Linked DNA regions of Homo sapiens: all the other regions are linked to region 1. The links are contacts of gene promoters, found by promoter capture Hi-C in blood cells and fetal thymus (Javierre and others, 2016). All regions are on one chromosome and are shown on one strand. Each heading gives the region's core, a stretch centred on a gene start or on the middle of the fragment in contact. The rest is flanking DNA. Distances are from core to core; before and after follow the strand shown. Region 1 holds the start of SLC25A51 (solute carrier family 25 member 51). Region 2 has its middle 150 kb from the start of ALDH1B1. Region 3 has its middle 5.7 kb from the start of FBXO10. Region 4 overlaps LOC107987064 (a long non-coding RNA gene). Region 5 has its middle 110 kb from the start of SHB.

What was found. Contacts are between HindIII fragments. The CHiCAGO score rates a contact against its expected background, and 5 or more counts as called.
Region 2: a fragment that was not itself captured here is called in contact with the fragment with the promoter of SLC25A51 in region 1 in 5 of 17 cell types (endothelial precursors, M0 macrophages, M1 macrophages and 2 more); the score reaches 11.2 in endothelial precursors.
Region 3: a contact is called between a fragment that was not itself captured here and the fragment with the promoter of SLC25A51 in region 1, in 4 of 17 cell types (megakaryocytes, erythroblasts, endothelial precursors and 1 more). The highest score is 14.3, in megakaryocytes.
Region 4: a fragment that was not itself captured here is called in contact with the fragment with the promoter of SLC25A51 in region 1 in 3 of 17 cell types (M1 macrophages, M0 macrophages and endothelial precursors); the score reaches 8.1 in M1 macrophages.
Region 5: a contact is called between a fragment that was not itself captured here and the fragment with the promoter of SLC25A51 in region 1, in 4 of 17 cell types (endothelial precursors, M2 macrophages, M1 macrophages and 1 more). The highest score is 9.7, in endothelial precursors.

What each region holds. Positions count from the first base shown.
Region 1 is chr9:37,901,415-37,906,486 of GRCh38, forward strand. SLC25A51 (solute carrier family 25 member 51) reads right to left here and starts at 2,713. Exons shown (of 3, transcript NM_033412.4): 1 at 2,654-2,713. It also overlaps the pseudogene PAICSP1. RefSeq lists a silencer at 2,154-2,913. The HindIII fragment of the contact is 4,581 bases long and covers 1,356-5,072 here.
Region 2 is chr9:38,244,921-38,249,992 of GRCh38, forward strand. No RefSeq gene overlaps it. Among named protein-coding and RNA genes, the nearest start is that of ALDH1B1, 150 kb to the right of the region's middle. The HindIII fragment of the contact is 1,157 bases long and covers 2,089-3,245 here.
Region 3 is chr9:37,579,580-37,584,651 of GRCh38, forward strand. No RefSeq gene overlaps it. Among named protein-coding and RNA genes, the nearest start is that of FBXO10, 5.7 kb to the left of the region's middle. The HindIII fragment of the contact is 4,363 bases long and covers 1-4,219 here.
Region 4 is chr9:38,201,698-38,206,769 of GRCh38, forward strand. It overlaps LOC107987064 (a long non-coding RNA gene), which reads right to left. Exons shown (of 2, transcript XR_001746667.2): 2 at 263-561. Among named protein-coding and RNA genes, the nearest start is that of SHB, 140 kb to the left of the region's middle. The HindIII fragment of the contact is 8,239 bases long and covers 1-5,072 here.
Region 5 is chr9:38,179,606-38,184,677 of GRCh38, forward strand. No RefSeq gene overlaps it. Among named protein-coding and RNA genes, the nearest start is that of SHB, 110 kb to the left of the region's middle. The HindIII fragment of the contact is 3,172 bases long and covers 1,346-4,517 here.

The DNA of each region.
Region 1 (5,072 bases), core at 1,463-3,962:
TGCCTTGGCCTCCCAAAGTGCTGGGATTACAGGTGTGAGCCACTGTGCCTGGCTTATTTTCTTGTAATTCTTAAGTGAGACAACTATTTTTATCCTTTATTTCATAACTTGACTGTTTAAGGCTGTGTACTTTTCTTTGAGCAAAACTCTTATTACTATTTAAGAGAGTTGGCATTTTGTCTTAACTATGCTTGCTAGTAAGTGTCCCAAAATCTTCAGTGAGTCTAGTGTTGTTATTCACAGTAAAAATAAGATTAAAGGGAAAAAAAAGGTTCCAGAATATCATCTGTTCCCTCTCTCCTCTCCCTTTCTTAATGTACAGAGTTTTGGGGCTTAATATGATTAACTTCAAGATATGTTCTAGACACTGAAGTCTGTTAGGGTATTGAGTTTGATAATTATTAGTTCTACTACATCCTTACTTTTTACTGATTCAGCTGATAGGTATGAGTTAAAAACTCTTATTAGTACACTTACAAGCTAAGATTAATCAATATTTGAAGTCCTAAAACTTAGTCTAGAAATGCTTGATACCTATGTAATGCTTTGCACTTCTTCAGTTTCAGAATTAAACAATGTTAAATCAACAAGAATATTTAGATTAATGTACATGATTACATGATATTGTGACAATTTATGAATGTCAAAACCATTTTATTTTTACATACGGAGCACACAAAATATTTTAAATTCTAAAGTCACCACCTACAAGCTGTTTACACATGCTCCTTGACAGTACAAGCCAAGTTATTTGTGTACTTGAACAACAATAAAAATTTTGTCCATGTTCACTTTTACTGGAATGTTACTTGTATTACTTTCTGAAATTTTGCAAATAAAGGTTAGTTTATTTATGACTCTGTGTGAGAATGGGGACTGTTATTAAACAAGCAGAAAACTACAGCTAACAGAAGTTAACCATTTATTGACCACCATATCCAACTATTTTAAGAACATTACTGTACATTGAGATTCTCAGATTTAAAAAATAGGCCTAGATGGGGGAAAAAATGTTATGAAACCCTCCTGGACTTTACAGATTTAAAGCTTTTTCTCTAGTTTAATCCTACACACCAGGATGGTGTGAATATGTTCTTAATTTAGCAATAGAAGGATAATGTGCACAGCATTATTTGGTAGTACAGTTTAGACTTTTGCATGTTTACCTATACTGTGAACATGGTTAAATTTCTTTGCTAAACTGATCTTTATATTTTTATTCATTAATGTGGATAATTCTTTGCAATTTATTGCAAAATTTATTTACCATAACTTTACGCTTGTTTGCTACGTAAAACTATCTCATCATAAGGGAGCAGTTAATGAACTTGATTTTCAAGCAACTACAAGTGTCAAGCTTCTGTGACTAAGAAAACAGTGTAAAGTCTAAAACCTTATTATAATTTACAGCCTACATGGATCAGCATGATACAGATATGATCCTAGCACAAAGGTCTCTGCAAAAACTGGGGAGAGGGTGACTCCAATTCTCAAAGGATGTGAATTTCCACTAGTCAGCAGGTCTGAGTCAGCATTCAGAACAAGATCAGCCTGGGTCTAGTCCTAGTTACGACACTAGCTTGCCAATATAAAGACAAAGCAATATCTGATTTTAAAATCCACTGATCTGAGTTTGCTTTCATTTACCAAACGAGAGATCAGATGAGTCAACTCCTAGCTTGTTTTCCCCTGAGATGCGCTAAGGGTGATTCCAGTTCCAAAGCGGTAACCTGTGCTCTAAACCACTATGGGACCTCAAGAGTCCTAGCACCTTTTGATCCTATGGAATCCTTTCAAAGCACGGGCAGAGGCGGCTCAAAATGGCAAGGTCACTATACATTTCAAGGGCTTCTGTTTCAGAGATTACAAGTAGAGAAAAACAGAAGGTGGGAATTAAGATCAGCTAGGTAGAGCTGTGAGATGCAAAACAAAGGTTTTGCAGGAAGTTGAGGTGCTGACATACTCCATCTAGCTAAACTGAACACCAAATAATGGATGGAGACTAACACCACCAACACCATCGTCCCCGAAAATCCTTGTACAAGTGAGCTTCCTACAACGCGATGCAATATGCTGTCGCAGAACAAGCACTGCCAGGCTATGTAGCTGAACTTACCGTTCTCCAGGCGTCCATTTCCCCAACCTGTGAAAGGCGGGGAGGGGGTTGGACAAGATCACTAAGTCCTCTTCCGTTTCTGACACTTCACAGTCAGGGGTCCCGAGGTGAGGCCGAAATCCCAGTCTCCCGGGACGCAGAGGCCCTTGCGCGGTGCCATCCCCGCTGTCCCCCGGGCGCAGGCAGCTCCCGGCTCCTCCCCGCCCCTGCGGTTCCTGTGCACCAGGGAGGTGCCTCCCCAGCCCAGGGCGCGCCCGAATGAAGGGACAGCGCCTTCGCGGGAAAGGTCGCCCAGCAGCCGGACAAACACCCGCGGCAGGCGGGGGAGCCCGGAGCCGAGGAGGCTCAGAACTGATTCCGCCCGCGCCGCCTGGGTGGGGCCCGCAGGGACCGGGCCAGGGCAGCCGGAGCGCGCAGAAGACAGGGATGGGCCCCCAGGGCGGCAGCCTGCCCCAGCGGGCCCTTCAGCGCGTTTCCCCTCCCTCCAACCTCATGCGAAGAAAGCCCGGTGCTTCCCCACGCTCGTCCCACACTCACCCATCAGCGCCGGCGTCCCGCAGGACGGCTAGCGAGCCGGGGCCCGCGCAGGCGCAGACTGTGACCGACCCCGAGGTTGGGGCGCAGCGCGACGCGCTGGGCGCTGTTGGGGTCACGTGAGGGAGACACCGCCCCGCCCCGCCTCCCCTCCCTCGGCCCGCGGCCCGCCAGATGTCGCCAGCCTACTTCTCCTGGCCGCAGGCCGCCGCGGCGGGGCAGGTAGAGGGCCACGCCAGCACACCTGTCAGGATGCGGGCTCCGCTAGCCACCATGCTTCACCCTTGATGCCGTACGGTGGCCTCAGCGTGCCAGAAACAGCCAACGCGTTCTCTAGCGCGCTGCCTGCAGGGGGCGTCTGGGCATTGTCGGTTTTAGGGGCCTTGTCGGTTCTGCGGGGCGAGCGCCTTCGCGGAAAACTCCAAAGTACCCTCTGTGGAGCCTTGTTGAGTATCTTCAAACCTTCAGAGGGACCTTTTATCAGCGACCCATGCCGCAGTTTACAGAAGAACGCTTTGTGCGTGCTTTGGGACGTATGGATCACTTTTAAACTTTTTCCTTTGAAGCTCAGACAGCTTGCGGGGGGCTTGGGAGGAGCGCTGCCCGGGGAGTTAGAAGGCTTGGGTCAAAGTCATAGCCCTCATACTTCTTGAGAGTGACCTTGGGTGAGTCGCTGGACCCTGAGCCCCAAATCTCCGTCTGAAAAGTAACCCATGCCTTGTATGCGTCCTCGGGCTGTTGCAGGAGTCTTTGGAAATGATGGTTCTGACTCTGAGTTGGAAACTGGAACGCACACAACAGATGGGAGGCGTTGAAGGAAACAGAAAGGTCGGCCTGAGGGGAGAGGCGTTTCAGGAGGCTTGCGGATGTGTGAAGTGTGCGCACTGTGCTTGGGGCGAGCCCAAGCAGTAACCCCACCCGAGTGAAGCGTTCTTGGGGGGATCGGCTCCGGGTGGGCGACGTTCCCCGCGTGCCCCCTTCCCCCGAGAGCACTTTGTAGACACTGACTCCAAAAGCGGGTCTGGTCTCTGCCCAGCCCCACTTTGGCTGGCGTGCTTAGGTGCCTCTCGGGAAGCTGGAGACCACCCTCCCCCATTCCAGCAAACGCTCCATTGAGGAACCTACTGCGTGCCAGGTCCTGGGGAGCTTAGCGTCTGATGAAGGATACAACAACAAAAGACTGGAAATTCAGAAGCATGAGGGGACCTCCCCCCTCGAGGGAGAACCAGAGATGGCTTCACAGAGCAGACGTTTGAACTGGGCCTTGGAGGATGGATGAGTGGAATTTGGCCCAGTGGAGAAAGTCATAGCAGCAGGAGATAAGATTGTAAGGGTCAGGTGGTGGGGCTGGATAATGCGAATCTTGACTGTCAGACACAGACACCTGCCATCTAATTAGTACGCGAGGGATAAATTTTGGACTCCGCAGGATAAGGACAAGGCTACACAATGGCTTAGAACAGTTAATCGGGCAACAGTTGGAAAGGGCCTTTGCCTCAAAATTATGTTTGCCCTGTCTTGTGTGAATGCCTATTCAGATGCATTATTTGAAAAATAAATAAACCAGGCAGGCATCCAGCGTGTTCATAAGCATAAATAATTAATTTCAGATTAGAATGGAGAGGTTATTCTCCTGCGGTAAAACCTGAACAAGAAGGAAAAGACTGAAATTAAACACACAATTGGGGCACACCAGACTCAGAAAATCCCAGGCTAACGGGAAAACTGAGGTCTGGAGCTGAGCCCAGTCTGCTTCTTTTATGCTGCTGCAGGCCACAGCACAGTCCTCTGCCCCTCCAGCTCTTAGTTCCTTGTCAGAAACCCCCAGGCCCTTCATTGGCTCTTCTTGGGCATATGAATGTTGGGGATGAAAACCCTCTATTTTTGGATACCAGATCCATCTTAAAGTTAGCCCTTCATTTCTGTCCTCATCCACCCATTCCTGCATTCCATACCTCCAACCACTAGGTCAGCTGCCAGATATCCTCCAACCCAGCTGTGATCATGTCATCCCGCAGCTTAAAAATCTCCAATGGTTCCCCCTTGGTTCCCTCTTGGTTCCCCCAGTAAATCCAAACTCCTTAACTCGGTGCACGGGGCTGTCCTGTCCTGGCCCTTTTGCCAGTCTGTCCACCTCAACCCCAACTATATTCTGTGCTTTAGCCATATGCAGTCTCAGTGTTTTGCAAATCCTGTGTTCCTTAAGCCTGTTTCCCCCTTTCACCACTGATACATGTTAGCCCTTCACCAAATAGCCCTTCAAGGTCCTTTTGCCTCCTCTCCCTCCTAGAAGGCTTCCCTGATCATCTCAGGCAAAATTGACTGTCCTTGCCCCTGCCTTCCCATGCCCCAAAGTTTGGGGCGCTTCTGACATCCTGTCCTATGTTGTAGTCACTCATGACAGTGTGATCTTTCCCACCGC
Region 2 (5,072 bases), core at 1,417-3,916, 340 kb after region 1:
CTGCAGTGAGCCGAAATTGCACCACTGCACTCCAGCCTGGGTGACAGAGCAAGACTCCATCTCAAAAAAAAAAAAAAAAAAAATTAATAATGTAACTCTTTTGAAACTTCATGTGGGAAAGGGGCATCTTTTTCTCATTTGCCTTCTGATGCCATGTGAACCGGCAGTTGGACCTCTGAGGACAGAGATGTGTGCCCTGAACAGGGTAAAGATGGACACTTCCTCACTCAGTACAGAAGGCTTGGGAAAGTTGTGGTCAAACTGGTTTTTTGTCATTTGAAGATTTATGAAACCTAAGCTAGGAGAACTTGCTATTTTGAATATCTCACAATATGAGGACTCCATTAAAGCAGGGGAAACTGTATACTTAGCTTTTGGAACATTGAAATTTCCTGCTATACTTCCTTCCACTTCCCTTCTTAAACTTTTTTGCCCTTAGTAAGCACCTTGGCTGGTTATGGTTCCTTGCCTGGTGGAAAACTCACATCTGCATTCCTGAAGAGCCTACGGCATTAGACTATGCTGTTATTTATTTTATTTTATTATTTTTTTTGAGACGGAGTCTTCGCTCTTTCGCCCAGGCGGGAGTGCAGTGGCGCTATCTCGGCTCACTGCAAGCTCCGCCTCCTGGGTTCACGCCATTCTCCTGCCTTGGCCTCCAAAGTAGCTGGGATTACAGGCCCCAGCCACCACACCCGGCTAATTTTTTGTGTTTTTAGAAGAGATGGGGTTTCACCGTGTTAGCCAGGATGGTCTCGATCTCCTGACCTCGTGATCCGCCCGCCTCGGCCTCCCAAAGTGCTGGGATTACAGGCGTGAGCCACCGCACCCAGCCTATGCTGTTATTTTAATGAACGTTTACCATAAGCCATGGGGGTATTAAGAGGCATTCCAGAAAAATCTCCTGGGTTCCAGAAAGACTCCTCTTTGTCCTCATCGTGTAGTAGCAGCTTACTTCCCCTTTGGTAATCAGGACTAATCACTCCAGTGAGGACACTACCTCCTTCCTTGCCTCTTGGTTAAATGGCACGGGGGGCCCAGAGTAGCCAGGGGGCAGTCTGAGCTTCCAGTTCAGTGGACTATGGTTGTGTCCATTGATGGAAGTGGCTTTCCTTTGGGAATCAAGACTTCTGCACCAGGGAGCTCAAAGCCACAATGATAGAAATGAAAATGTTGCTTGTGCTTCATTAAGGGTAGTTGTGGTATGAACTACTTCTGTTTCCTTCCATTGATTCCTGGACCCATGAATGCTAGCTGTGGGAGAAACAGTAGCAGACATTGGTCACTGAGTTAGAGCATATACCCCATTCCACAGGACATTACCTCAGCCCTGCAAAGGTTTGTCACTTGGCAGGTGCCATAAATGAGTCTATCAAAGGCCAATCCATTGTTGTATCAGGCCTGCTGTTTAGAGGATGTGGTCAGGTCAATGATTTCTGTGACCTTGAACCAAAGGATTATTTCAGGGCAGTCATCAAAGCCTTGTCTTTTCCTACCTGGCCTTGAGTTGGTCACTTTAAGCCCAAGGTCACCATTTTCTTTTTTCAAATTCATCATCACAGTCAGAAGTAGCTAACTAACCTACAGTCCTTACATGCTGTTTCCACTGTTCTGTTACAGCAGCTAGTCGGTCACCTGACTTTTTCTCCACGTACCTGACTTCAGGTGACTACAGGTAATAACTTAAGGAAATGTTTTGCCACTTTGTGCCATGGACTACCATGATTTTGCAATGGTGACATTTCTGCCCTTAATTCTAATAGTAGTGAAAGAATTTCACATTCCCATTCTTAAAGACCAGTTCCCCTGAACAACTAGTGGTTTCATTGAGGAAAACAGAGCTATTATAAGTATTATGGGAATAAAGGGTTTAACACAGGAGTTGGGGCTTATGCAAATCTGGGAGTAGTAGTGACAGTGAGGTTCTAGAAAGGGAATGTTGAAGCATTGGAGAAACCATTGGTAACCACTTCTGTCTGAAGCCAGGTGCAGCTGGCGGGGACGAGCTTGTGGGAAAGTCTGAGGAACTGCATGCATCTGGCCACCAAAGTGCATCCATGGGGTGAGAGTTCACGGGGTGGTCGGCAAAGCTTTGGTGTCCGTTGAAGCTGCCATGCCTAGTGACGCTGCCACTGTGCCTGACTGGCATTCCCTCCCAGCAGCAGTGGCTTCCCTTTTCCTTCTTCCTTCCAAATTTTGCGTGGGTTTCTCCCATCAGTAATCCCCATCCTGGAAACACACACAGCAAACAACATACTGGGAAGCATCATTCCAGCCTGAAACAGGAGATGGTGCCAAGTTGACAACAAGACAATCCAGCCCAATGTCCAACAATGGGGGATTGGTTCAATAAATTACGGTAGGGCCATGTAGTAAAATCCTACACAGCCTGCATTCATCAGGGATCAACCAGAGAAACATAACCAGTAGGTTATATATTCATTTATTGCTTGTTGCTTGCTTGCAAGGAATTGGCTCACATAGTTGTGGGGTCTGGTTAGGAGAGTTCAAAATCTGTAAGGCAGCCAGCAGGAAAGGCAGGCTGGGACTCTTGGGCATCATCTGAAGCTGCAGTCCACAGGTAGGATTTCTTCTTCTTCAGAGGACCTCAGGTTTGCTCTTAAGGCATTCCAATAGATTGAGTCAGGCTCACCCAGATTGTCCAGGATAATCTCCCTTACTTACAGACAACTGATTATGGACCTTAATCACATCTACAAAATGCTTTCATGGCAATATCTAAATTAGTGTTTGACTGAATAACTAGGGGACTGTAGCCTAGCCAGTGTGACACACAAAGCTGACCAACCCACAGCCATAGAAAAGAATCACATAGATCGATATGTGTAATGTGATAATTGATGCTCTAGAAGAACATTAAATGATATGGAAAGGTATCCAAGAAATATTAAGTTAAAAAGGCAGGTTCTAAAACAGTACGTAGAGTATTATTTTGTTTGTGTAAAAGGATGTCTAAGTATAGAGAAAGTAGACTAAAATATCACACGAGAATATTCAGAATGGTAATTACTGAGTGCTGAAAGAATGGGTAATGAAAACGTTCTCATTTTTGTGTATGCGTATTTCCTAAATCATTTACAATAAATACATGATACTTTATAGTGAGAAAAAGTTTAAATATTCTATTTTAGACACATTAGGAAACCTTGCTAATTAAAGAACAGTAGGCCCCTTCGTGGTGTGGGGCGTGGGGGAGGGATTTCCTCTCTCTTCTCCACTCCCTAAGCTTCTCCTTCTCTATCTACTTGCAGACACCAAAGTTATTTGCAAGACAGAAAGCTCTCAGGTCTTACAATGGAAATCTTTCCCTCTTATTCCTTTCCCTAACAAGTATGCGTGGATGCTGTGGGTGAGACGTTGAAAGTAAGCATTTTAATTTAGTATACACAGTGGAGAGAACCTTTAATATAATATTAATTCACTGTGCAAACTAGCAAGGTTTAATAACCATGTGAGCCATCGGGAATCCTGGTGTGACTCAAAATGACATCTGCATTAATGGTCTAATTAATAATGCATATGTTAATAAAATCTCATTAAAGCCAAAGTACAATTATTCACGTAGGATGCAATTCTTTAGCATCTGTGGGCCAATGTAGTGCTTTGGTGATGCCAGTTGCAATTTCCAATGATAGATGACCTTTTAATTCTCATTAATTGATTAAAGAGGCAGTGATTAGTGTAAAAACTCAACTCGTTTGGAAGTACAAAAATCACTGGTAAGACAATGATGATTACAAATCAGGAGGAACCAGGCAGCCCATCACAGGCATCTGCGTGTGCACAGTGAGTAATAAGAGATGGTAGGCAGGTAAAACAAGGCCAGTCATCCATGTCTCCCTCACTGCACCACAAGCCTGGGGATTGGACTCTGCTGCTATCAACAGTTTAATAAGAATTATATCAACACTGATTAATTCTTATGGAAAAATTATTTTTTAAAGGAAGCACCATAAAGTTAATTGACTAATTTGATTACTTTTCAGTTTCGTTTTCTTCTCAAGTTTTCCCATTCCCATTTTGGTCTTACTAAAATTATTTCAATCAAACTGTTTCACCATGAAGACTTGGTTTACCAGTCAGTTTGTTTTTTAAAAATTGACTTATGAGAGTGTCATTTTTTTTTTTCTTTTATGGCCATTATTTCCACCAAGCCCAAGTTTCCTGGGTCGTATCGAGCCAATCAACATAGTGTCAAGAAGATTTGAAGCTTTGGTCAATTTTTAGTCAATAAAAATTTCCACCCCGTGGACTTCTAGCCCCTGTCAACATTTTATGCTGACTACTGCCACCAGTCATTATGATCACATGTTGGGTAAATGACTAAGAGCTTATCTTTATTTCTAAGTTAACCCATGAAAAAAATGTGAGCAAATTTATGAACTAGGGCAGACATTAAGAGGGAGGAAAGATGGAAGGGAAGGGGGAAAGGAGAGTGACAAAAACAGAGAAGGAGAGATACAGAGAGAGATGGAGACAGACATCAAAGGGTTGCAGCAGTTCTAGCTTACTGACTTTTCTTCAAGGTAAAAATTTCTTGGTGTCAAAAGGCAGAGTCGAAACATCTGCTTCTCTGCTCCCCTAATCCCATGGCCTCTGAGTCCCTGCTCTGAGCTAGACCTGTGCCATGGGGAACAGAACTGAGTAACGTAGGCTATCAGCTCTCAGAGAGCCTCCAATCAAGGGAGCCACATGTGGCAGCAGCTAAGCCATGGAGGCTGCTCTCCAGGATGAGGGAGCCACTCATATGTATCTCTGTGCCCCCAGCACCTGGCAAAGGGCCTGGCCACAGAACCTGCTCATAAATGAATGAACTTGTCCCTCTACTAACATGCATTTATGCAGACTTTTCTATGTCCTGGGTACTGAGGCAGGATTCAAGAGTACAGCAGTGAAGCAAGCAGTGCATGGGGAAAGCAGCAGAGGTTGAGATGAGGCATGCATGTTGAACACATAAACCAGAGCTTAAAAAATGTAGGCAGGAACATAGTGATTAACTTTTAAGACTAAAGTCCGTGATGCTAAACTGGCTGGTTTTAGAAGGCAGACAT
Region 3 (5,072 bases), core at 788-3,287, 320 kb before region 1:
AATTTTTGTTTGTTTTGAGATGGGGTTTTGCTCTTGTCGCCCAGACTGGAGTGCAATGGCATGATCTTGGCTCACCGCAACCCCCACCTCCCAGGTTCAAGCGATTGTCCTGCTTCAGCCTCCCCCGTAGCTGGTATTAACAGGTACCAGCCACTAGGCCCAGCTAATTTTTGTATTTTAGTAGAGACGGGGTTTCACCATGTTGGCCAGGCTGGTCTCAAACTCCCGACCTCAGGTGATTCGCCCGCCTCAGCCTCCCAAAGCTCTGGGATTACAGGCATGAGCCACCACACCTGGCCAGGGGTTTTTTTTTTTTTTTTTTTTTTTTGAAACAGAGTCTCGCTCTGTTGCCCAGGCTGGAGTGCAGTGGCTCAGTCTCAGCTCACTGCAACCTCCACCTCCTGGGTTCAAGCGATTCTTCTGTCTCAGCCTCCCAAGTAGCTGGGACTACAGGCTTTCGCATTTTCAGTAGAGACAGGGTTTCACCATATTGATTAGTCTGGTCTCAAACTCCTGACCTCAGGTAATCCACCTGCCTCGGCCTCCCAAAGTGGTGGGATTACAGGTGTAAGCCAATGCGCCCAGCCAAAAATATAACTACTTAAATATAAGAACATCATTCACAAACTACAGTTGAGCCCTCTCTTCTTTCTGCCCTCATCTCACCTCTGCATGCCTCTATCCTACCATTAGACTCGAGAGGAAACTTACTCATCTTTATACACTGGCACCTGGCTGGTGTTTACTGGCAAATGTATAAGTGAACACACAAAATCTCCTCAGCCATGGGAGCTTTATTTACTTTGCTTTCCAGAAAAAGTAGGCTCACACAGAGTGGTGTCCCAGGTCAACATAGTGGACATGCCATGCTTTTTGGCTGCCCAGCATCTGAGGTCCCTTCCTACATTTGGGAATTCCTTGTTTATGAGTTTGCTGGGAAGCAGAACATGCCTTTCACTATAGAAGTGGAAATTCCAGGTATTTTCTCTGCTTCTCCTTGTGATTCTATCATGCTACAAATTACTCTTGATTTTGAATTAAGTACCAGAGACACAATAAAGTCTCTGGAATAATTTTCTCTGGGACCATGGCAAGTGCGGCAAGTTCTTAGAGCAACACTGGCTGCCATGATCCAGGGTTCTGTGCATGTGGCTTTGGCAAAGTAAGTGGTGGCACCTAATGTTCAGCAGAAATGGCGTCCTCACTGCCCCAGCTCTGTGGAGTATGACCAAGGAACAAAGGGTGATGTTCCAGTTGCCTACTCTCCAAGCCTAATTCTCTAGGCCTCCTGGTGATACTGAACTCCCTGTTATCCTTTTAATAAAATACTTTTCTTTTTCTGTCAAAATTGGATTTTGGTGTTTGCAACTAAAAAATCTGACTCACATAGTCACATGATAAATAGCAGAGCTGAAACTATAATCTAGGACATTGAAATCCTAATTCTAGTATTCTTTCCATGTAGACAGATCTCTACTTTCCAACAACCCACAATTTTTACATTACATATCGCTGTCCCTAAATCATTTTGTTCACCGAATTTATACTTGAATATGTAAGCTGATTAGTGAACATTTCAAGTGACTGTATTTCAAATGCAGTATTATCTTTGTACATCTGTTTATGTAATAGTTTCTTTCTTTTTTGCATTTTTGGCCTCTATATACTTAAGTGGAAATGAAAATACCCCGCACTTGAACAAACGTGGGAGTTAGGGGCCCCGACACCTGCACAGTCACAAATCTGCATGTAACTTTGACTCCCCAAAAACTTAACTACTAATAGCCTACTGTTGCACAGAAACCTTACCGATAACATAAAAAATAGATTAATATGTATTTTGTATCATTATCTATTATATACTGTATTCTTACAACACAGTAAGCTAGAGAAAATGTTAAGAAAATCACAGAGAGAAAAAGCATTGACAGTACTATACCGTATTTATTTAGATTCTAAGTTTAGGTTGTCTGTTTACAAGATTAGTCGTGTCTGAAATCAGAGCAACTACAGCTGCAGACCTCAATCTATAGTACATATCAAGAATTCAACTTTTTCCTTTAATGTCATGACTTTTCTCTGCTTCCTGGGAGCACTTCCAGCATCACTAGTGGCACTCTGTATAGATCCCATGGAGTTATTCAAAGTTTTGTGGTATGGTATTAAACACAAAAAATACATGAGACAGAGAGGGATCGCTTTTACTTTGATTTGCAATTTACTGGAGCGAGGAACTGCTCATGCAGAGATGAGTGTCACATGGCATTTTAAGTGGATACCTATAACACTTGAGCTCCCTGCAGTGGCAACAAGAGGTGGCTATGGACTTACTGTATTACACTATTACAAAAGATAATTTTATGCAGTTATGATTTAATACTGCATCTTTCTCTTGACCTCAAATTGTGCTATGTATGGTCTGTGTACATAAGTTTTGATAAATCTTAATTTTTTATAATAGATGTGTGCATTTTATGAGTAAGACTACAATCTACATATATTTTATGCATTCATGACATCCTTTATCTTAAATTTTTTCAATATTTCTAGACTACATATGTGTGCTTTTTTCAAATTGTTGCAAATCTCCGATTTTTCAACGCATTTTTTGAAAAAAATCTGCACGTAAGTGGACCTGTGCACTTCAAATCTGTGTTGTTCAAGGGTCAACTCTACTATTACTAATGTGACTGAGAAAAAGATGAAAAACTATTAGACACGCTTAAAGTAGATCTTTTTAGCCTTATAATGACTGTTGGACTAAAACCAGCTGTGTTTTATTTCTGAATGAAAGAAACAATTTAAGAACATATTTCATAACTCTGAAAATATTTCGTATGTTTAAAAGACAAAGTGCATAAATGATTTTGTAATGTTTTACATCTCAGTAACAAGTATATTCAACTTTTACATATGTGATTTCTATGTTTTGTGTACTTATGCTAAAGTAGGCAACTGACACCACATAGGCATATCTGTAATACTGAGCATACACAAGTAGCATGTAAGTAGCAACTGTTCACTGTCTCCTGGGTGATGTCCATAACACAGAGTAAGGAAAAGGTCTTGTGTTTTATCTCAAATTTATTATGACAAATTTCAAAAAATACGTTATTAAAGGTTGTTCTTGTGTAGTGGAATTTGGAACTGCAGTATACACAATAGCCAGCAGATGTCAGAATGGAATCTCTTAAGACTCAAGTATGAAAACACAATAAATAACAGGAGTTTCTGGAAGGACTGAGGCTTTCTTGCTCTTCTGTGCACAACACACTTCAGTCACACTGGTCTTTCTTCCTCAAATACATCTGCTTTAACACTTTTTCAAAGATGCCCCGCTCTATCTGGCCAATTCCTATTCACCCAAACCTTACTTTATGTGTCTCTTCCTAAGGGAGTCCTCCCTACTGCCTCCCAGGCTCAAAATCGAACCCATTATTTTCCCCTTGAAACTTGTTCCTTACTTCAGCGAATGGCACCGTCAACCCTGCACTTAAACCAGAAATCAGGGAGTCTTCTTTGATGCCTTTCTTTCCTCACTACACGTATCTAAATAAATGCTGAGCTGCTCATATACCCCTCTGACCTCTCCTTCAAATACAGTACCCATATTGCATCCAATATTGTTTTAAGTGGACAATTCTGAACTCCCCACCTTGATCAACATGATCTTTGCCTGACCCTCCCTTTACCTAGTCACCCTAGATAACCTGGACCTATCCCTTCAGGTTCCTTTAAATGTCATGTTTTCAGGTAAGTTCTCTCTGAGCCTCCAGCAAGGTTTTCAGGTCTTTGAGATATTTACTCACATGGCATCTTATGGCAGATTATAGACCTCAAAAAGGCAGTCCCCCTGCCCGTCCATATCCTCAACTCCTAGCACAGTGCCTGGCACATAGCAGGAACTCAGTAACGCTGATGAATGAATTTGTAATCTCAGGGCTTTGATCTATGATAAAATGAACATCTTTAAAGTAATAAAAGTGATTTGGTGACCATTTCACACTTAGCCAAATTTTACTCTTTACTTTAGAAGGTGTCCTGTAGGACAAATCCGGCCAGCCATCTTTTCTGTAAATAAAGTTTTATTGGGACACAGCCACACCCACTCATTTGCATATTGTCCCTGGCTGCTTTCATACTACCAACTGCAGTTGGCAGCTGAGAGATCGTAAGAGCCCACAAAGCCTAAAATATTTACCATTTGCCCCTAACAGAAAGCTTGCCAACCCCTGCTTTAGTGGCTTGACGACTGAGCTACATGCAGAATTTATGACATGATCAAGCTATAAAAGCAAAATAGAGTAAAAAGAATGGTGCCTGGATCTTGTAAGAGACAAGCTTAGCTCAAGCAAAGAGGGGGAAGAGAACAAGAAGTCCTGATTCCTGTACTTGTTCTTCATTCCAAATGTAGGCCCAAATTTTCCAGCCTGTGAACTGCTGAACATGTTAACTGTAATGCTAACTTACTCCACAGAAGAACTATAAAGAGCAATGATAAAGCAGTTTTTTTTTTTAATGTTGCACTGACAGCAGGAAGTACACTACCTTAACTTAGGAGCAGCATTCCTACTAAGCTGGTAACCTGTTTGTGGAGAATAAACATTTTTCACTATCCCCATTTCTTTCAACGTACCCCTTTCAAGAGTTTACCAAACTCAAATTTGCTATGGTTCTTTCTTATTTCATGTTACATATTCAAACAAACAAACTGTATATATCTCCCCAACTGTTTCTTAATGTACTATTTTAGAACTGCTTATTCCAAGTATTGAGCCCCTCTGTGGCGTTTATGGCCTGAAAGTTAAAAAGCTGGTCACAAAAACTGAACCATCACATTTTCTCTTACTCCAGCCTGAACATACACTAGAATCCAGGGTAACAATTACACTATTTTCCTCCAAGAAAAGCATGTAAGGATGGGGTACAAGGAATAAATAAACATTAAAAGTCCCCTGGATAAGCACAGACTGACTAGAAATAATTTTTTTAAATGAAAAAAAAAAAAAAAGTCCCCTAGGCCTTGGCCAGCTGCTACTCATTGGCCACTGAAACTTGCAGTCTCAACCTCT
Region 4 (5,072 bases), core at 1,296-3,795, 300 kb after region 1:
AATGTACATTCCCTTTGCAGGATTCTGTGTGCAAAGGGTGTGTTTTCTCCCAGGAGTGTTTCCTATAATTAGAGCAAGCTGCCCACCCCCTCCCCCCACAGCAGCAGAGGGCTGCATGATGAGAACTGGTGGATCTAGTTCACTTGGAGGAGGCATCACAAGGGTTTTCCATACCACTCCTTATTAAGACAGCCAAGGATAAACATTAAAGCAAGGAAGATAAAGTCCTTGGAAAAAACCCAAACAAACAAATCTGCAAACGTTTTGTGAAGATTTGGGACCCTGTCACTTTAATCCTTCTATGATCCATCAATGCTGATTCTAATCCGGATCTTATCACCACACTTCAGTAGAATGCTTCTTTCAAGCTGGACAGAGCATTCTTTTTTTCAGGTTCCAGCATTTCTACCTTTGATGTTCCTGCTAACTGGGGCCCTCACTGATGAGATGCCGGGTGCAGCTTCCACTTGGGAACCTCTCTGACTCCACCAGGATGAGAAACAAAGAGTTGGAGAGGAGAATGGAGGCAGGTTTCCCCTCAGGCTCTGGCTGCTTCTCCTCCTGCATCAGAAGATCAAAGGGAGGGAAGAGTGAGGCCTCAGCGGGGGTGGGGGTGGGGGTGGGGGTGGGGTGGGGTGGGGTGGCCCTGCTCTGTGTGCTTCCCGGTAGGAGCCAATTTCTTCCCTAATTTATTGACCACCCTGACTCTTTCCTCATCTTTCTGATTAATAGTTTAGTTGGGGGTGCTAGGAAATTTACCTCCAGTTGTTACCATAGCAACCAGCTCTCTTGTACAGGATCCCATAGACAATGCATTTTGGGTCTTCGGCAGGAGCTGGGATTTACGAGGATCTCAGCATGTACCAGGGCAGAATGGGCAAGATGATGTTCCACTGATATGCTTAAGAATTATGCGTGGGGATAGGAAATGGTCTTGCCACACGGTAAATTGGGAAGGATGGTTTTAGTGCCTTTCCTTTCCTCTTGGCTTTGTCTCTCTCTTACAAGAGACCCCTCCCCCACAACATTCTCTCTTAGGTCCTCGGAAAACTAGTTCCTCACAGGACAAAGGCAGGGCCAGTTTGGTGGAAGTCACGGGGAGGCTCATTCCCTTTCAGCAAAAGGAAGAATTTGTAGTGGGTAGAACCAGCTGAAGATACAGTTGGCAGTCTTGGGAAGTAGTGATCCCTGGAGGTGTGTGAACAGGGGCCTGTCAGGGGCTCTAGAAAATATTGTATAGAGGACCGAGTGAGGGGTGGCATGTGTGGAACCTCTGGGTCCTTTTCATCCCTGGGAAGGGAGTTGCACTGTACCTGCTTGTGAGGCCAGCTCTCACCTCTCCCAACTAAGCAGAATATCAGATTTGGACATTTCAGTTCCCTGGGCCCCTGGGATGTCTTTGGTGTCCTCATAAACTCAATACCCAGTACACTGCCTGGCCCTTGGGTGAATGAATAAATTCCTTAGGCCTTTATTAAGTGTGTGGACACAACTTACTAACTGTTTATGTGTTCTTTTATTATGATAATAAAAATATACATTTCAAAGCATTGTCATATAACAACTGGAACTGGAAATGGAAAAAAATTTTGTTGCTTTTAAAACCCTATCCCAGGTGCTGGACTCATTCCCTTATTACAGTTGAGGCATAAAAGTGTTTGTCTTCCACAAACCATGTGGAAATGGTGGGGAGGAACTGAAAGCTCTCCTTGGACAAACCCCTTAACCTCCCTGTGCCTCCATTTTCTCATCTATGAAATGGGGGTAATGGAAACCATCAGGAATGATCAATTGGCTTTCACTTATGAGCTGAATGTGCTTGATGGGGAGATGCTTGGCTAAAAAGTGTGTAGCAATAGATTAACAACATCTGCCCTGGACACCAGATGTGGGGAGGATGGCACATGTGCCATATATTTGCCGTCCTTGGACCAGATGGTCTCAGAGAACCCTGATGGCTCTAGGTGCCAAGATGTGACGATTCTAGGCCACCTTAGTTGTTCTCTGCCTTCAAACCAACCTTCTTGGCCTTTCTTTACTCTCAAGCCTGTAAAATTATCAGGGAACTGACTTTGTTATTTCAAAACCTCATTACATTTTTCTTCTTCCTTCCTTCCTTCCTTCCTCCCTCCCTCTCTCTCTGTTTTTTCTCTTTCTTTCTTTCTTTCTTTTCTTCTTTCTTTCTGCTGGGGTCTTGCTCTGTCACCCAGGCTGGAGTGCAGTGGCGTGATCTCAGCTTACCGCAACCTCTGCCTCCTGGGTTCAAGCGATTCTCCTGCCTCAGCCTCCCAAATAGCTGGGATTATAAGTGTGTTCCACTATGCCTGGCTAATTTTTGTATTTTTAGTAGAGACGGGGTTTTGCCATGTTGGCAAGGCTGGTCTTGAGCTCCTGACCTCAGGTGATCCTCCTGCCTCAGCCTCCCAAAGTGCTGGGATTACAGGAGTGAGCCACTGTACCTGGCCGGAACCTCATTACATTTTTCTTTTCTCAACAGATTGACCTATGTAAAAGACCTCAGATTTGTCTAGAAGCAGGGAGATATCCAGGTTGGTTTGTAAATGATACAGATGGGAAATGCAGAATTTAGGCTCCAAGGAACACCTGGCCTGCAGCAGCTTGCATAAGAGCTATAGGCAAACAAGAGGCTGCTGAAATCTTTTGAAAAGACCTGCTGCAAGGAGTGGATGGAATGCATCCCACAGGGATTTATTCTGGGCACACAGCTGCACTCTAGGGCTGAGATTACTCTTTGGAAGCAAAAGACTGCATCCCTCAAGGGAGAGAGACCTGGCCGGGCCTTCTCAGGTACAACACTCTCTCCAGTATTTCCCCAATCTCTCCTCTAGCTCTGTCTGCTTCCACTCTCCCCACCCACCCCTGGCTACAGTCACGCTGGCCTCTGTACCATTCCCATGTCTGCCGCGTGCTTTCTTAACCCTATGCCTTTGCCAGTGCTATTCCAGCCACCTGTAATGATCTTCTCCACCCAGCAGACTCCTATTCATGTTCCAAGATTGAGCCACAGAGTAATCTCTGAGATGCCTTCTCAACCCTCTGAACCACATAGAGCCCTGCATCTCCTATCCCTTTCTCTACGTCTATACTGGCAATGTTGGTGAATCTCTACTTTTCTTGGTTCAGGGTAAGCCTGGACACAATGGAGTGAAACATCCCAGAATATAATCATTTTGTGACATAAAACAAAGATGGCTCAATTCTCTGATGAGAGCAGAGACTTGTTTCCATAAGAACCCTCTCTGGGAGCTCATTTCTCAGCTGAGGGCTGCTTGATGCTATAGGATGAATTCCTTTGGCTCATGCTCAGGCCTTTCATGGGGGCTGGGCTGAGGTCAGGCAATGGCCAGGTGGGCCCCATGGCTGGGCCTGACCTCATGAAAGAGCTTATATTTAATCTTTTGATGTTATCTCCTGTCTTTACCCATTTTTGTGTTGCTATAAAGGAATACCTGAGGCTTGGTAATTTATTTTAAAAAGAGGTTAATTTGGCTCATGGTTCTGCAGGATGTACAAGAAACATCGTGCTTCCTTCCCCCTCTCTGGTTTCCTCTCTAGCCAGGTGATATCTGCACACTCAGGCTCCCCTCTACCTTCTGCCATGAGAAAACCTGAAGCCCTCACCAGAAGCAGATGCTGCTGCCCTGTGTGGGCAGAGATCACATGGTGGGGCAGGAGGTACCAGTCTCTTTTTAACAACCAGTTCTCCAGGAAACTAATACAGCAAGAACTCACTCATTACCATGAGGATGGCACCAAGTCATTCATGAGGAATCTGCCCTCATAACTCAAACACCTCCCACTAGGCCCCACCTCCAACACTAGGGATCAAATTGCAACATGAGATTTTGAGGGGTCAAACAGATAGAACTATAGCACCTCCAAAGGAAGTTATATGTCCCATCAGAGAGGTACATTCACCAGATCAAAGTAGGAAATGTTCACCAAAGTAACATTTGCATCCCATTACTGAACCACACCATTTGTAGTACCTTATAAATTAATATGCTTTTAAAATACATACTGGAATTATCTTGTGATTAGCAATATCTCATTGCCTTCTTTTTTTATATTGAAAGTGCTCATTTGATAAATGTAAAGATTTAAAATACAGGCATGCACCACATAACAACATTTGGTCAATGAAGGACTGCATGCTTGATGGTGGTCTCGCAAGATTATAATACTGTATTTTTACTGTACCTTTTCTATGTTTAGATATGCAAATACTTACCACTCTGTTACAGTTGCCTGCAGTGTTCAGTACAGTCACATGCTGTACAGGTTTGTAGCCTAGGCGCAATAGGCTATACCATATAGCCTAGGCACATAGTTCTGCCATCTATGTTTATGTAAGTACACTCTATGATGTTCACACAACAACAAAATCACCTAAGGATGAATTTCTCAGAACATATCCCACACCGTTAAGCGATGCATGACTGACTGTATATCACAATTTTGGTAATTGTTTCTTCATATCTTCATTTATCAGTATGTTAGGCACCTTAAAAATTGGAAGTGGCCCAGGCTTCTCTCAGCCTCTGAGAGGCCCCACTCGTCTAGGACTATGTTTGCAAACCTACACAGTAGCTGTGTGACCTTGGGCAAGTTACTTAAACTGTCTCCCTAGCTTCAGTTTCCTCATGTACTCATTTACAAAATGGTGAAAATAACTCTATTTTGCAGGGTTTCAAAGATGAGTTAATGTGATGTAAGTGAAGTACCTAACAGTTTTAGATACACAAGTTTCTCAGTATACAGTAAGTAGATGCCCAGTAATTGGTAGCAGTTGTCATAATTTTTTCTGGTGTATTTCTAGCTGTTTTGATCCAGAAAACTTTTTTTTTTTTTTTTTTTTTTTTTTTGAGATGGAGTTCCGCTCTTGTTGCCGAGGCTGGAGTGCAATGGCATGATCTTGGCTCACCGCAACCTCTGCCTCCCGGGTTCAAGCGATTCTCCTGCCTCAGCCTCCTGAGTAGCTGGGATTACAGGCATGCACCACCATGCCTGGCTAATTTTGTATTTTTAGTAGAGATGGGGTTTCTCCATGT
Region 5 (5,072 bases), core at 1,682-4,181, 280 kb after region 1:
AATCACCTCTTAAAAGACCACGTCTCCAAATACAGTCACATTCTGGGGATTAGGACTTCAACAGATGAATTTCGAGGCAGCACAATTCAGCCCATAGCAGCTGTGAACATAGAGAACAGTGCCTGCTTCACCTGAGGATTCCTGAGGGCTGGAGACTGCTGGGCAGCCTGTGCTGAGAGAGAGGGTGAGGACTTTGGTGTACTATGCCTGGAAGACTTGGATGTGGGGGCTGCCCTCCCAGATGGCTAAGGCCTTCAGGGTGTGCAGAAAGGGCCCCCCGTACTCTATGTGAAGGAACAGGTGAAGTGCAGGAGGAACGGAGGCTCTGGGGGTGCCCAAGTGGCTAGGCCAGACAAGTGGGTGCCCCAAACAACCAGGGGAATGGCAGGCATGAATGGCTGCTGGGCCAGCAGGGAGATGGGACTGTCTCCCAGAGCAGAGCTAAACACTACACCAAACAAAGCCAGTACCTTGCCCTTACCACAGGGGCCAATCAGTGGAACCATTAGCTACAGACAGAATGGACTAAGCCAAAGTGAGTGCTCCTCACTTCACTGGGTGCTCCTCACTCCCAAGAGCTATCCAGTTACATAAAGTGACACTGGCACTAGGGGCTTGAGCCTTGAAAATGAAGGGGGACAAGGAAGAGATTTTCTCAGCAGCAGAAAAAGTCCCTCCCTCCCTTCACTGCTCCCAGGACCGAGCTGGGGGCTGCGGGAGCAGCATTGGGAAATGCGACTGAAGTATTTTATTAAACAAAAACAGCTCCCATTATTGCTAATTGCTTTACATAGTTTCCCATCTCTGTAACCATCCTACAAAGGGGAGCGGGAGCTTGGGGCTCGGTGTGGTGAAGCACAGAATCGAGTCTACACAGCTGCTGTGTGACAGGACTGGGCATCAAACTCAGCTCTGTGCCATGACAAGACGACATGGCCTGAGAACAGAGCACAGGCTTTTAGCCACATAGCTAGTGTTTGGAGGCTCCTTGACTTATTTCTGGACAAAGTAGGGTCTAACTAAACTAACCAAATGATGTCAATCTTGGGGAGCAGCGTGCGTGCACATGCGTGTGTGTGTGTGTGTGTGTGTGTGTGTGTGTGACTTCCCTGGTCACAATGTAATGGAGGTTTCTAGATAATGAAATCTGATGCTTCTCTTTACAGGGTTTACAGGGTTTCCAGGTCATGTGCTCACCCTGGGCAAGTCTAGCATGAACCTGCTGGAACAGAATTCTTAGCTTCTGAGTAGGGATCACTGAGTCTGCTGCTGTGGAGTCTTTGACCTGGTTATTCATGGATGAACCATCTGTTTCCCCTTTGCTCTCATGGCTCAAGATGGCAAAAGCTTTCTCCCACCCTTGGCCACCTCTCCCTTCCATTGTTGTGGCCAGGTGGCTGCTGTAGCTGCCTGTTCTTTAGGGATGGCACCCCTGGAGTCAGAGAGTCCATCCCTGTCATCATTGCTGTTGAGACAGAGATGGTGAAGCAGCTCTTCTCTGGCATTGCCTGTCTGGATAAAGCAGGCACTTGACTTGGTAGCTCACACCTGAGAGACCTAGGGGACCTGTGCTTCCTGGGGACTTGGTGAGGGGGAGCAGAACAAAAGGCTGGTGGAAGCCTCAGGGGTAACTGTACCCTTCCCTGGGGATCTCCCCCATCCTGAAAGCCAGCCTGGCCTCTCAACAGGGGCCTGAATGGCCCTCCCTCTGCTGAATGTGATAGAAAAAGGGAGACAGGCACAGAAGGAGCTGTTTTCTCAATGCTTCTAGATGGAACAATATACGCAAAGACCATCTGAGTCACCCTCAAGGGAGGACTACAACTTCCAGATCACTGTTGGTCATTGACACATCACTGACCATCCTGCTCACGCTGCACCTCAGCAGTGGCTTTCCTCCTCCCTTGGCTAAATGCTCTTCTCTTTCAGTTGACATTCATGGGGCTTATGCATAAGTAGGACGCAGGCCTCCTCCCAGTGGGCGAAGGTGAGGGTGGACAGGGAGCACATGTCCCTCAGAAGTCTGTATTCCAACTAGGGGCAAAGAAATGAAATCCCAGTGCTGGTGGTTTCTGGTGCTCACTCCCAGTGCAGAGAAACTGCTCTGGCTAGGGGCCTGTCACAGTAGCCAGAGCTGGAAAGAAGCTCTGAATGTTAGAAATCTGGAGGAAAGCACAACTTCAAAGAGTCTTTTTCTAAGAAAAGTCCCTTTTGCTGCCCACAGGGAGTCAACTGCAGATACGGTTTTAAAATTTTTGTAGAAAGTCAGTCCTTCCTGTCTCCCTTCCTTATCCCCAGGCCAGAAGCAAATAAGTATTTCCCAGAGAGGAGAGGGCAGGAAGAGGAGTTCTGTGACCTGGGTGGGGGTTGCTCACAGGCCTGAGTACCCCAGTATTCATCATCCCTTTCCTCTTGCCTCTGAGGATGTGTATGTGCCTCTTGCCTCATTACCCATTGATTCATACCTCCCCAGCTGTGCCTGCTGCATGAATCGGATGGTCCTTTTGAATTCAGACATCTCAGACCTAAAGAGCTGCAGGACATGGGCCTACCATGCCTTAACATGTTGTTTTTCTTGCACACTTTGTCATTGGTTGGCAGAATCTCCACATCTCTTTCTCTGTCTCTCTTTTTTAAAAAAAAATCGCTTTATTAAGATATAATTTGCATAACACATGTCTTAGCCCATTTGCATTGCTATAAAGACATACCTGAGGCTGGATAATTTAAAGAGGCAAGAGGTTTATTTGGCATATGGTTCTGCAGATTGTATAGGAAGTATGGCACCAGCATCTGCTTCTGGCAAGGGACTCAGGCTGCTTCCACTCATGGCAGAAGGGGAGGAAGGGAAGCTAGCATGCAGACTTATATGGTGAAAGAGAAGGAGGGGCCAGTCTCTTCTCAACAACCAGTTTTCATGGGAACTAAGAGTGAGAACTCACTGCTGTGAGAATGGCACCAAGCCAAACACCTTCCTCTTGGCCCCACCTCCAACACTGGGGATCACATTTCAACATGAGATTTAGTGAGGCCAAACAAACCATGTCCAAACCATATAATCCACCCATTTAACAGTATGTACAATTCAATGGTTTTTTAGTACATTCACAGGTGTGTGCAACCATCATCATAGTCAATTTTAGAATATTTTCATTATCTCAAAAGAAAGAAATCCTGTACCTTTTAGCTATTACTCCTCTATCCTCCAACCACTGCCCCCCAGCCATAAGCAAGCAGAAATCTACTTCCTGTTTCTCTAGAGACCCCATTCTGGACTTTTATAAGAATGGAATTATACAGTATATTGTCACTCGTGACTGGCTCCTTTTACCGCACATCATATTTTCAAGGATTATCCATTTTGCAGTGTGTATCAGTAGTTCATTCCTTTCACACTGCTCTTGATGGGGGTGAGCAGGCTGAGTGTAGCTCCATGGAGTGGAGGAATAGCTATAGAGACCTCCAAGTCCAGGCTCATGAAGAATCTTGCTTTGTACCCAGGCTTGGCATGGTTCATTTCAGATAATTTCACTCACTTCCTCCTTAGGTGGTTGGTAAACTAGAGACCAATGTCTTCCCTTGACTGTTATTAGACTGGTGCACATGGTCTTTGTACTCAGCAGACAGGCTTCTCTGCCTGAGGCCACCATCATCTTGTTCTTTCGAAAGGACGTCTATTGCTTCCAGGTGTTCTGAATGCCCTTATTCCTGCTGTAAACTCATGCTGACCACGGAGAGCAAGCAAAGGCACTTATTTGCATCCTCTGCACATTTGTGAAGGAGCTTCTGTGGGGTTCTGTCTGAGCTCTAAATTCTTCCTGGAAGTTTTGGATAAGGAAACATTCTTGACATCCTTGCACTTGGACACAGTACTGCTGATGCTGTAACTGAAGTTTTAAACTGGTAATAGGTTGGCCTGGACTTTTTGTTAATTGAAAGTGACCACAAATCCATAAGATTTGTTCAAATGTCATTATGGGTCAGGAAGAAGAGATTTGGAAGAATTTGTCTGAAGATAAGCAATTGGACAAAAAACCCCACAAAACCATCTTATGTTTACGCCCTGCTGACTTCAGACTGTTCAATACAATGATTACACATTTAAGAACATAGAGGCATACATCCCATATAAATTTTAGTGTTAGTATTCAATTCAGTAGTATATTAAAAGAATACTACATTATGACCAAGTCAGCTTTACTACAGGAATGTAAAGGTGGCTCTTTATGAACAAGTGCATTAATGCAGTTTGTCACAGCAAGAGGTCAAAAGAAAATTTTTGGCAGTAGTTTGGAAACCTGTTCACACAAGACATTTTTATTTCCTTAGCATGGGTGCCACACAGAAACCAATAGAACAAACGCCATACTTGTTTGGGATGGCTATTTATGCTGCTTTGATAGACTTATCCTTAGAGAAACTATCTTGTTTGTTTGTGTTGCTAAAAGGAATACCCAAAGCTGGGTAATTTATAAAGAAAGATTTATTTGGCTTATGGTTCTACAGGCTGTACAAGAAGCTTATCTGCTTCTGGTAAGGGCCTCAAGCTGCTTCCCCTCATGGCAGAAGGAGAAGGGGAGCCTGAGTGTACAGAGATCACATGGCCAGAGAGGAAGCAAGACAGAGGGGAGGGAGGTGCCAGGCTCTCTTTAACAACCAGTTCTGGTAGGGACTGGTAGAGTGAAAATTCACTATTGCAAGAACTTCATCAAGCCATTCATGAAGGATCCACCCCTATGACCTAAGCACCTCCCATTGGGACCCACCTCCAACATTGGGGATCAAATTTCAACATGAGGTTTGGCAGGAATTACACAAAAATGATGCTGGGTGCTCTCCATGTGCTCTATCAGGAAGTGCACAATGCCAACCCATCACACTATTGTTGACTTAATTTTAATCTTCTCCTCCAACTTTCTCCACTGTGAAGGCACCATTTTCATTATGCCAGTTTCAGAGCATGTCCCCACAAATTAAATCATAAAATTAAATCATAATTTAATCCCTTTTGGAGGGAGTAAGACATTTAGGATTTAATTTTGTGCTAAAGAATAATAATACAAAAATAGCTA